Regions from separate parts of the Homo sapiens genome. Here all the other regions are linked to region 1. The links are contacts of gene promoters, found by promoter capture Hi-C in human tissues and cell types (Jung and others, 2019). All regions are on one chromosome and are shown on one strand. The core of a region is centred on a gene start or on the middle of the fragment in contact, and the rest is flanking DNA. Distances in the headings are between cores, read along the strand shown.

Region 1 (2,645 bases), core at 59-2,558:
AAATTACATTTTCTTCCTTGTTCTTCACGCAGTTGGCAGTGATTTCAGGTTTTCAGACTTCGCAGCTAAAAATCCAAAAACTTGCATAAGAGCTCCCTGCGCTCTCCCCTAAACCGTCTGGGCGTTCTGAGGAGCTACAGAAATCACGCCCTTGATTCTGGATAATCGAGTTCCGCCCTTTCCATAGCTACCGACCAGTCTTTACAATCTGGTTGAGGAGTGGGAACTTACGGTCTGCTAATGTGAAAAAGCAAGCAGAGGGAGAACAACAGAAGTACGTCCACCATAACTTGGAGAATGACCGAATTCTGTTGAGGGGGCTTCCCAAATGAAAAGCCTGACTTCAGTTACTGGGTGGGAACAGGAAAAGGAGTCTGACGCAGCTAGAAACTAAAACTGAACCAGACTCATAACTCAGCGAGAACTGCAAACTCCTGATGTGTGCAGGTTGCCGCTTATCTCCCCTGGGCCTGGCAGGAGCAAGCATTTGAACCCCTTGGCTAGCTTAGGGCGCAGGACTTCATCCCCAATCTCTGGCGTCGTTACTGGCCCCCAACCCTGGTCTACCTGCAGCCAGTTAGGACGCGCCAAGAGCCCACCTGCGCCGCCCGCAAAGCACGTGGGAGGGAAACTGAGGCCCGGACAGTTCTTTTTCCACGCCCACGGAGCGCCGATCGCGGCCTGGGCCAGAAGGAGCTATACGGCAAAAAGGGGACTGCACGCCGAACCCCATTCCCCGCCGGCTCCTGTTTTCTCGAATCTCCAGCGGCCCGGGCCCCCTCCCCCCGCGGGAAGAATACTTACAGCCGAGCGACCCAGGACGGGAGTGGCTCGGGAAGACGCGCTAGCCGCTTACGACTGCAGTCCAGCAGGTCCCCGAGGCAGCGGCAGGTAGTGGGGCATGGGCGCTCGGCGGCTACCCCAGAGGGCTGCCCGAGTTCCCCGCGACCGCCGCTGTCTGACCGGCCAGCGCGCCCCAGCACCGCGCACAGCAGCAGCCCCAACCCCGCGGCGCGCGCACGGAGGCTCGGCGCGCTCATCGCGGTCCAGCGGCCTAGGTCTCTACCCGAAGCTCCCAGCCGGCGCGCGCTCGGGGCCCGGCACAAACTTCCAGCCGAGGGTGCACGCCCGCCCTCGCGGTCGCGTGCGCGCTCCTCCCTCGCGCTGCCCGGTCAATTCCTTCTTTTACTCCCGGCGGCGAAGCCCTTTCATGCCCCCAAACAGCAGGAGGGAAACCGAAAAGAACTGCCAACTGCAACAGAGTTGCAGCTTGAGCAGCGTCGGCTCGCCGAAGCCCCTTCTTGTCTGCAAAAGAAACTTTTTCGCCTCCACCCCGCGGCACTGCGCCAAGTCCCCGCGCGGCGGAGTAGCAAGGCGGGCGGGTAGAGGCCGACGCGCGCCCATTGGCCGACTCGGCTGCGGGCGTCCCCGTGGCCACGTGACAATAACACCGCTCCAGCCGGGGGCCTACGCGCGGGAGAAAGTGGAGCTGAGATTGTAGGAAATTCAGAGTTATATTTTCCAGCCTCTCCAGCCAGAAGTCTCCACTACGTCGTGGGAAACATATATCAAATGGAGTTGAAAGGCAAAAGGAAGTGAGCAAATACTGGGCTAGTTCTCGGAGTTGGAGGTATTTAGGAGAACTTCAGGGAAGTAAAGTTTAATTAGCAGTGTTTTCAGGAAACTTTTCAATTCCAAATTAAAGACACTGATAAATTATCCTACCATCCACAGATGAAAGAGTGGTTTCAATGAAAACAGCTCTTTCAACGTTAATGCTGGTGGGTGTTCCCCCATACATCGGCTTCAAAAGTAAAAACAATAATAAAACGTAAAACTCGTGGTTTTGGAAAGTGTATATTGAATTACAAATAGCCAGCCTTCGTGCACTGGATAAAGCTGGGCGGGGTGGGGGATGGGAGATGACCTTCTAATAGACCTCGATGGCAATCATAGATTCCTGGTAATAGTAATAATAAAAGTAGTCACAGTGACATTTCAAAGTAAAATGAAAACTAAGACCTTGGAGGAAAAAATTAGTATATGCACCTTGGTCCACTTGCGCTTTGAGTAATGACACATGTTGATTGAGAATGCTACCAGGGTAAAAGTACCTCCCGGCCTCCTCAGCTGGGGGAGTGGATGTTTGGGGCTGGATTCAGGCTACAGGACTTCCCAGTGAAGTTTGTTCCTTAACTTACAGGTGATCAGCGCCACAAGATGTTGAAACTAATGGAGACCGCAGAGATCATGTGCTAAGGGGCCTTCCTCCTCTGGGTAAGGAAATAGACCTAGAGAACGTAACTAATGTGTTTGTTGCAAAAAAAATAAAAATAAAAGCAAGACAGAAAACATGAACAAACCAAAAAACAAACCCTGGAAGCTTAAAGTAAGTTTTCACTTCTATACATTGTTTATTGCATGCTGTCTGCCCAAGCTTGTCTGTCCTTGGAGTTGCGTAAACTGCTCATGATTGAGGAGTGGAGATAGCTTGTGGAGTTGAGACTTTAACCCTGACTCTAAGGCCCATTGATTTTTCACTGTAGCAAATCACTCCCACTTACGGGGGAAGGAAAAGACTCACTTTGAAGTTAACACACCCTATTTTAGATATGGTATCCCATTTTCTTATTTCCAGCTACCAT
Region 2 (2,645 bases), core at 62-2,561, 240 kb after region 1:
TAAAACAAACTGAACTAGAAGTTTTACTACAAGGATGAATTCCTTTCTGTACACTGGAAGCTAGAGTGATACTCATAGGAGACCATAGTTTTCTGTTTACAGAGGCTGAACAGGCATGAACTTAACTATGTGAAGATCGAACAGAGATGGCAATAATGAAAGATTTTTAATGTAATAATGATTAATACTAAAATCTAGAAAGGTAGTTTTTGAGGTTAAACTGGACAAGGTAATCATATTTAACAGAGAAAACTTGGTGAGAAATGAAATATAGTCTGAAGAGTAAGTGGTTCTTGGGTTTATAGTAATAATTTATTAATTTTATTTGAACATTTGGGAAGTAGCTTTAAAAATTCCTTTTTGTATTTCCAGAAATGTATATCTGAACTCCTGACTTACCACAGAATTTGGGCCCCTCTGACATTGTAGCATGCCCTGTGGTACTTGGCTATTGGGATATTTAATCCTTGACTACCTTATCTGCTCTCTTTTCTTCTCCCGGCAACCATGTGGAACCAGTTTGTGAGCAAAGAGTGGCTTAAGATGTAGTAAAATTGACATGAAACATGTATTTACTTGCTTCATGAAGTTTTTTTTTTTTAATCAGTTAAAGGGGTGTCTATAGAAAAAGTTAAGAGCTTAGGGCATTACTGTTATCAGAAAAAATTTGGAGTTAACATTAACAGAAATATTCAGTATTAGGAATGTTAGCTGTTGAAGTACGGAAATGAGTTCCTACATATTATGGGAAAAAATTTAGAAACTTTACATGGCATAAACCCAAAGGAAAGTAAAATTTGATTTAATATTCATTAATTTGCTCAATCATTAAATAAATGTTGCATGAATGCCTACCATATAGAAGTCTTATGCTGGACCTTGTGGGTAGAATAACAATGAGTAAAACATATCTCTCACCAGAGGGACCTCAGTGTTATGGTCTAGTGAACAATAATAATAAAAAAAACTAAGTACATGAAGAAAGGGATTTGTGTGATCAATGTGTTGGGAATTGAAGGCTGGTAGGCCATCTAACCACAATGGTTGAATTATTGATTTTTATCTTATCTTACTCCAGAAAGAATGTTTTAGAAATGAGATAGACAAAATGAAACAAACATGAAATCTGGGGTGTTAGGAACAAAAAACCAACCCTTATAAAGGTGGAAATACTTATGCACCTCCCCTTCTGAAAGATAAACTACAACCCAACCAAGTTTGAAGTAGGAACAGTAAGAAAGAAAAAATGAGTAGAATGTTGATTTCTTTCAGACAGAAAAAAGTAACCAATTGTATATATTTCAAATATTGTTAAAGTTACTCAGTAAGGCTTTGAAAAATTAAATATCATCTCTCAGTGTGAGATGATATCCATAAATGTGCTTTAAACTCTTCAAAAGGCAGTATGTGGCACTCACTGTTTGCTATTTTTTATCTCTTTATACATTTTTATTTTGCTGTATTGTCATGTCTCCATGACATTAAAAATGGATAATGAAAAGAGATGAAAAGCTTAAATCACTGTTATTTTCTTACAGCTTCAGGAGAGATTTGATGAAAAAAATTATATTTTGGCATCATCTTGACTCTTGAACTTACTCCCAGATCAGCTACAAATTTGTCCTATGGCCTGAGGCACTGAAAACACGACAGAGCTCTGCAATAATTTCCAGTCAGACCAGACAACCTAGTTATTCCCTTTTCCCAGGTGTCCCGGTGACCTATATTATTGTCAACAACAAGGCATTACTTCAGCTTCAAGTCTTGCAAAATCTACTGGATTGGAAGACCAGATATTCATTTCACCATTTAGCTGAAAATGCACAGTACATTTTAGAATGATGGGGTTTGTTTAGCTCATCTATCCGTCCATCCTTACTTTTATTCTATTGGGTTCTTAATTCAAAAGAAAGACTGCCACCTACTGGATGTGTGATACGAAGAAGATATTAGCATTAAAATATACTCTCTCATTAAAGGTTGATTCAAAATAATTGCAGAAGAAAATATTCAAAAGAATGTCCAATTTTTACAGATAAGTATTGAACATATTTCCTTAAATGATTTTATTATCAGCAAATACTGAATAAAAATTATTTAACAATGTCCATCTAATTATTTAGAAATAAAATTCCTTCTTCCTGTTCTTATTTTAATACATTAAAAATTAATTTACCTTTTTTCCAGTAATAGGGAATAATTAAGTATTCTCTTATGTTGTCTGTATAAAAATAGAATAATGATCTTGACAATTTAATACTATTTTGTGATACAAAAACTCAGGTTATAGAAATACTAACAACTTTTATAACCTAGATTCTAGTAATTAAAAGCAGTCAAATTTGAAAAGGAGAAAGGTGCTCTCGTGGTTCAAATAGAACCAATGATTTTTATCAACCTAAAGTTAGCATTTAAAGTCTAAATGGTTGGTTCTCTAACTTGCTATATTATATTTCTTATGTCTCTATTATTATTTATTCTGTAGAGTACTAGTTAGCCTTAAGAAATAATTAGCCCCTTTGCCTTCAGATGCCCTAATATTTACGTCTATGGGGGTCTACACCCAAAGAACCCCATTTTATCTGTTTGACTAGCCACATTTCAAGTGCTCAGTAGCCACATATGTTAATGGATACTGTATTGGA
Region 3 (2,645 bases), core at 51-2,550, 230 kb after region 1:
CGTACTATGTCACATGAAATTACTAAAATAATAAATTCTTATTTTCTTGAGGGAAAATTATGTAGTCTGATTTAAAAATATAATGTGGTGACCAAAACAGCAGATTAGCAGAGAATATGATTGCCTCTGATTGTCCTTCAATATCACCTCAGATTCTAAGTTATTATTCATTCATTTGTGATGAGGTATCTCATCTCCTCTGTCATTTGCTATGTTTACAATCCCACAAGAATCTATACTGCTTCCAGATAAGTGACATAACACATAGATTGGCATGTCCTTGTGAGCAAGTTGTGTACCAAAAACATAATGTATTCACCAAAAATGAAGTCATTTTACATCTTCTGTCACTGGACTTAATTGGGTAGTTAGGTGACTTACAAGAACATTTTCTTTGCTATATCTAAGTTAAAGTTAAACTTGTGAGTCCTTTCACGTGGAAGGAGATTGAAAAAGATAAGCTTTCACATAGAAAGTGATTTACCAGTCATTTAAAGAATTCATTGAGAATAAAATACCTAGGAATCCACCTTAAAGGGACGTGAAGGACCTCTTCAAGGAGAACTACAAACCACTGCTCAATGAAATAAAAGAGGATACAAACAAATGGAAGAACATTCCATGCTCATGGGTAGGAAGAATCAATATCGTGAAAATGGCCATACTGACCAAGGTAATTTATAGATTCAATGCCATCCCCATCAAGCTACCAATGACTTTCTTCACAGAATTGGAAAAAAATACTTTAAAGTTCATATGGAACCAAAAAAGAGCCCGCATCACCAAGTCAATCCTAAGCCAAAAGAACAAAGCTGGAGGCATCATGCTACCTGACTTCAAACTATACTACAAGGCTACAGTAACCAAAACAGCATGGTCCTGGTACCAAAACAGAGATATAGATCAATGGAACAGAACAGAGCCATCAGAAATAACGCCACATATCTACAACTATCTGATCTTTGACAAACCTGAGAAAAACAAGCAATGGGGAAATGATTCCCTATTTAATAAATGCTGCTGGGAAAACTGGCTAGCCATATGTAAAAAGCTGAAACTGGATCCCTTCCTTACACCTTATACAAAAATCAATTCAAGATGGATTAAAGACCTAAACGTTAGACTTAAAACCATAAAAACCCTAGAAGAAAACCTAGGCATTACCATTCAGGACATAGGCATGGGCAAGGACTTCATGTCTAAAACACCAAAAGCAATGGCAACAAAAGCCAAAATTGACAAATGGGATCTAATTAAACTAAAGAGCTTCTGCACAACAAAAGAAACTACCATCAGAGTGAACAGGCAACCCACAAAATGGGAGAAAATTTTTGCAACCTGCTCATCTGACAAAGGGCTAATATCCAGAATCTACAATGAACTCAAACAAATATACAAGAAAAAAAACAAACAACCCCATCAAAAAGTGGGTGAAGGACATGAACAGACACTTCTCAAAAGAAGGCATTTATGCAGCCAAAAAACACATGAAAAAATGCTCACCATCACTGGCCATCAGAGAAATGCAAATCAAAACCGCAATGAGATATCATCTCACACCAGTTAGAATGGCAATCATTAAAAAGTCAGGAAACAACAGGTGCTGGAGAGAATGTGGAGAAATAGGAACACTTTTACACTGTTGGTGGGACTGTAAACTAGTTCAACCATTGTGGAAGTCAGTGTGGCGATTCCTCAGGGATCTAGAACTAGAATTACCATTTGACCCAGCCATCCCATTACTGGGTATATACCCAAAGGACTATAAATCATGCTGCTATAAAGACACATGCACACATATGTTTATTGCGGCACTATTCACAATAGCAAAGACTTGGAACCAACCCAAATGTCCAATAATGATAGACTGGATTAAGAAAATGTGTCACATATACACCATGGAATACTATGCAGCCATAAAAACTGATGAGTTCATGTTCTTTGTAGGGACATGGATGAAATTGGAAATCATCATTCTCAGTAAACTATCGCAAGAACAAAAAACCAAACACCGCATATTCTCACTCATATGTGGGAATTGAACAATGAGAATACATGGACACAGGAAGAAGAACATCACACTCTGGGGACTGTTGTGGGGTGGGGGGAGGGGGAGGGATAGCATTGGGAGATATACCTAATGCTAGATGACGAGTTAGTGGGTGCAGCACACCAGCATGGCACATGTATACTTACGTAACTAACCTGCACATTGTGCACCTGTACCCTAAAACTTAAAGTATCAAAAAAAAAAAAAGATTATTACTTCCAAAAAAAAAAAAAAAAGAATTCATTTCAGTTTTTTTCATATATTACTACTGGGCTAAGTTTGTTTCTTTCTGGCTTTTTCCTAAAGCAGGATTTCAATTGTACTGATGCCATCATAATTCACAGGAGAGAAATTCTTCAACTTTCTCTGGAGTCAGACTATATGTAATGAAGTTGTTCCCGAGGTGATTAGTCATTACATATTCAAGTTATGATATGCTTTGGTTGTGTCCCCTCTCACATCTCATCTTGAATTTTAGTTTCCATAATCCCCACATGTCATGGGAGGAACCCAGTGGGAGGTAATTTAATCACAGGGGTGGTGACCCTCATGCTGTTTTTGTGATAGTGAGTGAGTTCTCATGAGATCTGATGGT
Region 4 (2,645 bases), core at 84-2,583, 180 kb after region 1:
GTGAAACTTTTGGTAAACATGCCCTAACTTACATTTCTTTTAGAAAGAGGTGGATATAAGAAGCAATATATGAATAATCTCAGATGAATCATTATATCATCATCTAGACAGAAATTTATGTCTTTTAAAATTAAAACATTTCTTTTTTTTAGTTAATTAATACAATGCTATTTGCAGCTCCCTCCTACACTTTCTCCCACATATTTGCTTCTATTTAATGATCTGGAAAAAAAGACTGTAGCACAACAATGAAAATTTTAATGATATTAAATTTGGTGGCTTGGCAAGCAACTATAGAAATAGAGAAACTAATGAATGGGCCTAAAGACCTTAGAAATCTGAGCAAAAGATAAAACTAGATTCAAGCAGGAATTAAATGCAAATTAAGACATCTGGAGAAAGGTATTAAACACAGACATTCAGGAGGCAGGTAAAATCATAAAGGCTGTGAGACAGCAATGTGAGGTAATAGCACATCAGCTATTTCATTATGGAGAGGCAACATAATGACTAATTCACTTTTGTGTCTCCAATTTTGAATCCCTCTACAGAAAAGTGATAGATTATGTATCTCTTGAAAGAATGTTAGTATTCCAGAAGCTTCAATGGAAGTGCCATATAATTACCAGAATGAGGAAACTGCCTACTATTATGTTACAAGATCTCCACCTGCTTCTCTCATTTACTTCACACTAAAAAAGGAAGTATTCCAAGGTCCCTATCAAGGGAGCAACTAATGTGATGAATAAGAAAAACATCCATATAGAGAGTCACTGAAAACCTCAACATCCTTCGTTAACCTTGGGGTTCCCAGCCACTATTTGTTTTAAAATAGCCTTATGTGAACATCACATTGCAAGGCATATGTGCCACAGTTGACGGTAAAGGGAGCCTGTTCCTGTTCATTTTATAAAAGTTGTGACTGAGGAAAATTTCAAACATGTATAAAAGCATAGAGGATGAATTTGGAGCAGCAGCTTATCAACTCTTGTCCAATCTTGTTTCTTCTATACACTCTCATACGCACTTGATCTCCTCACACCCTGGGTTATGCTGACGCAAATCCCAGACACTTTTATATCATCTTTTAGTATATATAGCCAAAAGATAAATATACATACACCTCTTTTATAGCATTACCACTATATCATTACCACTCCTAAACATTATTAATACTTCCTAAATAACATATTCATTTTTATATCCTCAGTGCCCAGTCTGGTCCCCACATAATAAACATCTCTATGAATGAATGAGTGAAATGTCTCCCCACTTACTCAATTTATTAATTTAAGAACAAATATTGCTACTTTTAGTCTATTGCTACTCTTCTTTATCTCTCAAAACCCATCCCAAGGGCTTCTCTTTTGTGAAAACTTTCACAATATTTCTAAATAGAGTTTGTTACTTGTATGTTTATTTCCCTGCTCAACATCTCTGTGCATTCTTTGTTTTTGAAGACTGACAATGTATTAGGCACTGTGCTAAGCCTGTTGCATGGAAAAATACTTCTATCTCTATTTTACTAAAGAAGAAATAGAATCACATTGGGGTTAACTAACTACTCTGGGGCACGTGCCAGTGAATGACAGGGCTAAGATTTGAACTCAGGCAGTCTGATTCTAGAGTTCATGCTTTTCACCAGTTTTATCCATCTTTATACTCTACTTAGGAACAAAGTGGCTGGATACATAGTAGAAAATCAAAAAATGTCTTGGAGAAAAGGATAAAAGGAGGAAGGGAGAAAGAGACGGAGGGAAAAAGAAGAGAGAGGAGGGAAGAAGAAAAGGAGAAAGGGAGAGAAGGAGGATGAAGGAAAAAAGGAAGAAAAGGAAGTAAGGAAGGAAAGAAAGAAGGAAGGGAAAGAAAAGAGCATATGATTATTGAGACTACTTGAGAGGGAGAAAAGATAGGACAATAAATTATATACCACCATACAGTTTCAAAAATGTATTTTTATTAATTTTACTTGCTTTTTTCAATAAGTGTAAGGTAGATATTAATACTCATTTTGAATATTCGGGAAGTAGTTCTTAGAGACAAGGAGAGAATTGTTGAAACTGGTAGAACTGGCTCTGACTCCTCAATCTTGACTCCACATCCTATTCTTTTTAGTGACTAAAATGTCATTCATGTCTTTCTTTGGTTAAGACTGGCATCCCCATAGAAAGAGCTGAGTGGCCATTGTCTAGAATACAGTGCCCTAGGTCAGAGGTCTGAAATGCTTTTTGAAGAGAAGCAGAATGGTTGGGGAACAGAAGTCTCAAAATTGCCCTGGCTGATGAATTGGCAGTGAAAAGGTGTTTACAGCCAGGGAAGGCCATCAGTATGGTGTGGGGGAAGGGGTCCCCAAGACAGCCACACTTCAAACCATGGCCCTGGAGCCAGTTATTCTTGACAGAAACACAACCACCCAAACATTGCCTCTTATAATGTGTTCTCAGTTGCACGATAAATTTATGATGAAGAAGTGGATAAATGAATAAAACATCTGCCATGTTTTGTAACTTTGAGAACATTGATACCATTTTCATGTAGGGTGAAAATGTTACTGTGCAAAAAGGATGTACTAAGAATTGTCAATTTGTAGTGAATCACTATTTGAATATTAATTTTTGTGTACTGTTTTATATTTTATTTTACAA
Region 5 (2,645 bases), core at 72-2,571, 160 kb before region 1:
TGTTCGTGGAGAAATTACTATTGTTGACAACTGGATTTCATATTTACATAAATAAAATATTACAAAATAAAAATAAAATGAAGTTTTTAACTTGCTAGTATCCATTAAATCAATACCATCGTATATATACAATATGAAATTATCACCCCATAAAGAACTATTAAGAAAAAGCTTATTTAAAATGCTGAATTACCATTACATATACATTATGTTATGATAATTTCTATTGTTATGGTTTCTTTCTAATTGGTCTTGAGGCCTAGAGAGGCCTAAAGCCAAGATAAACATTTGCTAGGAGAGCCCTGATAGGGGAAAGTTAAGTTCAAGTGTGTGTTTCAGGTGACACACAATGAAGAAGTAAAACCAAAATGCATGAAACAGATCAAATTTATTACTCACTGGCCCCAGAGTGATTCAGTGTGCCAACAAGAGGCTGACTGGGAGATGTGGAGGTGGCAGGGAGCTGGAGCTGTGGAGTAGAGGAAGACATGTTGAGAGAGAGAGAGAGACCTGGAAACTATGCCTTTATTAAGGTCCAGGGTGTTATCCCTTAGGCTTTCCCATGGGAATTGCGGATTGGCTAGTTTAAGGAAAATATTTATTTATTTATTTTAGAGATAGCATCTCGCTCTGTCACCCAGGCTGGAGTGCAGTGGCGCGACCTCAGTTCACTGAAACCTCCGTCTCCCGAGTTCAAGCAATTATCCTACCTCAACCTCCCGAGTAGCTGGGATTACAAGCACGTGCCACCTCACCCCGCTAATTTTTGTATTTTTAGTAGAGTCAGGGTTTCACCATGTTGGCCAGGCTGGTCTTGAAGTCCTGACCTCAGATGATCCGCCTGCCTCAGCTTCCCAAAGTGTTGGGATCACAGACGTGAGCCACTGCGTGTGGCCGGGGAGAACTTACTGGCATGACTCTAGAGTTGACCATTAGGTTTTCTCGTGGTCGGGAGCTGTGAAATATTTTCGGCTTTGGATCACTGAGATGAGGAACAATGGGCTATATCACAAACAGCTGCACAGGAAGGAAGAAATTTTAACTAAGCCAAAGGCGACAGGGCACAACTGGGTTCAAACAACTTAGGTCAGCCCTAAAAATAGATACTGAGGCAGCAAGTATAGGAAACACCAAATCTATGACACATCACTTAGTGGTTAATAGAATAAACCTCTCTGCAATGTCTGTTTTTGAATTTATCTTTAGCATATACTTTAGTTTGCCTTACTCATATGTCCTTGATTATTTTTCTTTTGTAACTTTTGATAGAAATGGCTTTCAAATAAAAATGAATTCAATAAACATTTATTGAACGCTTACTGTGTGCCAGGTATGAGGGTGGCAGGATGCACTGATAAATTAGATATGGTTGCAGTCCACAAGGAGTGAGAGTCTATTAAAGCATGTGGATATAATGAATTTAAACTCTACGATAAAATATGACATGAGCTCTAGCAGATGTTTACCGAAGGTGATACAGGGCATAGAAGAGGGAGCAATTGACTTTCCCTGGCAAAGTAAAACAAAAACAAAATCCTTCAATTTGTAGGGATGTCTTATGCTGAATTTTAAAAGATGATTGAGGTTTGGGGTGGGGATCATAGTGAACGTTGCCCGAATCAAAGTGAAGACGGTAGAGGCAACAAAGGCAGGTTGACATAAAGTCAAGTTGCAAGGTAAGCACAGCGCCAGGCAGTTCATGATGACAGTAGGGTAGTGAAGGGAATGAGGGGAGTGGGCATGGAAAAGGAGGTTATGGGACATTCATAGAGGCAAGACTAGCAGATAGGCACAGCCAGATCTAGAGTAGAACACAAAGGTTAGACTAAAACTTTTTATTGTTACAAATTTACACATGATAGAAAGACACAAAAAGGCTAACTAGGAAGTATTTTCTCAGGCTCTTCATGTATATTTTATTTTTTCCCATCTTTAAAATTTAGACACTAGAGGATTTTACTTTCAATCCTCAGTAAGAAGGCAGTAATAGATTTAAAAAGACATTCAAGTAAAGGGAGTCAATTTGGACAACCCAGTAAATGCATGCATGAGATTGCCTGTATGAACATGTAATGAGAGTTCTGGAGGCTTTCAGGGCTGTGTCTGTTGGCAGCAACTAAGGAAATGGCAGCACTGTTACAGGCAAAGCAAGCTTGAAGGAACTCACTTCTAAGTCTCATGACGGTTTTGGACATGTTGATTTTGATATAAAACTGAACAGTTTTATTACTTTTTCAAAATATTTTTAAGTTCAGGGGTACATGTGGAGGTTTGCTATATAGGTAAATTTCAGGTCATGGGTAAATTGCATGTCATGTTTAGTGTACAGATTATTTTGTCACCCAGGTAATAAGCATAATATCTGACAGGCAGTTTTTCCATCCTCCCCCTCCCCCCACCTGCCACCCTCAATTAGGCCCCAGTGTCTGTTTTTCCCTTCTTTATGTCCGTGTGTACCCATTGTGTAGCTCCCACTTATAAGAGAGAACAAGCAATATTTGATATTCTTTTTCTGCATAATTTCACTTGGGATAGTGGCCCTCAGCTCCATCCATGGTGCTACAAAGAATATAATTTTATTTTTTTTATGGCTGGCTGCTTAGTATTCTGTGGACAGACACACGCACACACACGCCATGGAATAT

What was found. Contacts are between HindIII fragments. The study calls those that stand out against the background at their distance.
Region 2: a contact is called between a fragment that was not itself captured here and the fragment with the promoter of LRIG3 in region 1, in 1 of the 25 tissues and cell types used here (hippocampus).
Region 3: a fragment that was not itself captured here is called in contact with the fragment with the promoter of LRIG3 in region 1 in 1 of the 25 tissues and cell types used here (dorsolateral prefrontal cortex).
Region 4: a contact is called between a fragment that was not itself captured here and the fragment with the promoter of LRIG3 in region 1, in 3 of the 25 tissues and cell types used here (bladder, heart left ventricle and thymus).
Region 5: a fragment that was not itself captured here is called in contact with the fragment with the promoter of LRIG3 in region 1 in 1 of the 25 tissues and cell types used here (IMR-90 fibroblasts).

Annotation. Positions count from the first base shown.
Region 1 is chr12:58,919,196-58,921,840 of GRCh38, forward strand. LRIG3 (leucine rich repeats and immunoglobulin like domains 3) reads right to left here and starts at 1,309. Exons shown (of 19, transcript NM_153377.5): 1 at 805-1,309. The coding sequence starts at 1,040. LRIG3-DT (LRIG3 divergent transcript) reads left to right here and starts at 1,509. Exons shown (of 6, transcript NR_183518.1): 1 at 1,509-1,595; 2 at 2,204-2,277. RefSeq lists an enhancer at 206-475 and silencers at 856-935, 1,356-1,465, 2,084-2,193. The HindIII fragment of the contact is 9,447 bases long and covers 1-2,645 here.
Region 2 is chr12:59,163,394-59,166,038 of GRCh38, forward strand. No RefSeq gene overlaps it. Among named protein-coding and RNA genes, the nearest start is that of LRIG3-DT, 240 kb to the left of the region's middle. The HindIII fragment of the contact is 5,481 bases long and covers 1-2,645 here.
Region 3 is chr12:59,145,501-59,148,145 of GRCh38, forward strand. No RefSeq gene overlaps it. Among named protein-coding and RNA genes, the nearest start is that of LRIG3-DT, 230 kb to the left of the region's middle. The HindIII fragment of the contact is 4,185 bases long and covers 1-2,645 here.
Region 4 is chr12:59,095,976-59,098,620 of GRCh38, forward strand. All of the region lies in intron 3 of LRIG3-DT (LRIG3 divergent transcript), which reads left to right. Among named protein-coding and RNA genes, the nearest start is that of LRIG3-DT, 180 kb to the left of the region's middle. The HindIII fragment of the contact is 3,776 bases long and covers 1-2,645 here.
Region 5 is chr12:58,756,564-58,759,208 of GRCh38, forward strand. All of the region lies in intron 1 of LINC02388 (long intergenic non-protein coding RNA 2388), which reads right to left. All of the region lies in intron 1 of LOC100506869 (a long non-coding RNA gene), which reads left to right. Among named protein-coding and RNA genes, the nearest start is that of LINC02388, 24 kb to the right of the region's middle. The HindIII fragment of the contact is 4,751 bases long and covers 1-2,645 here.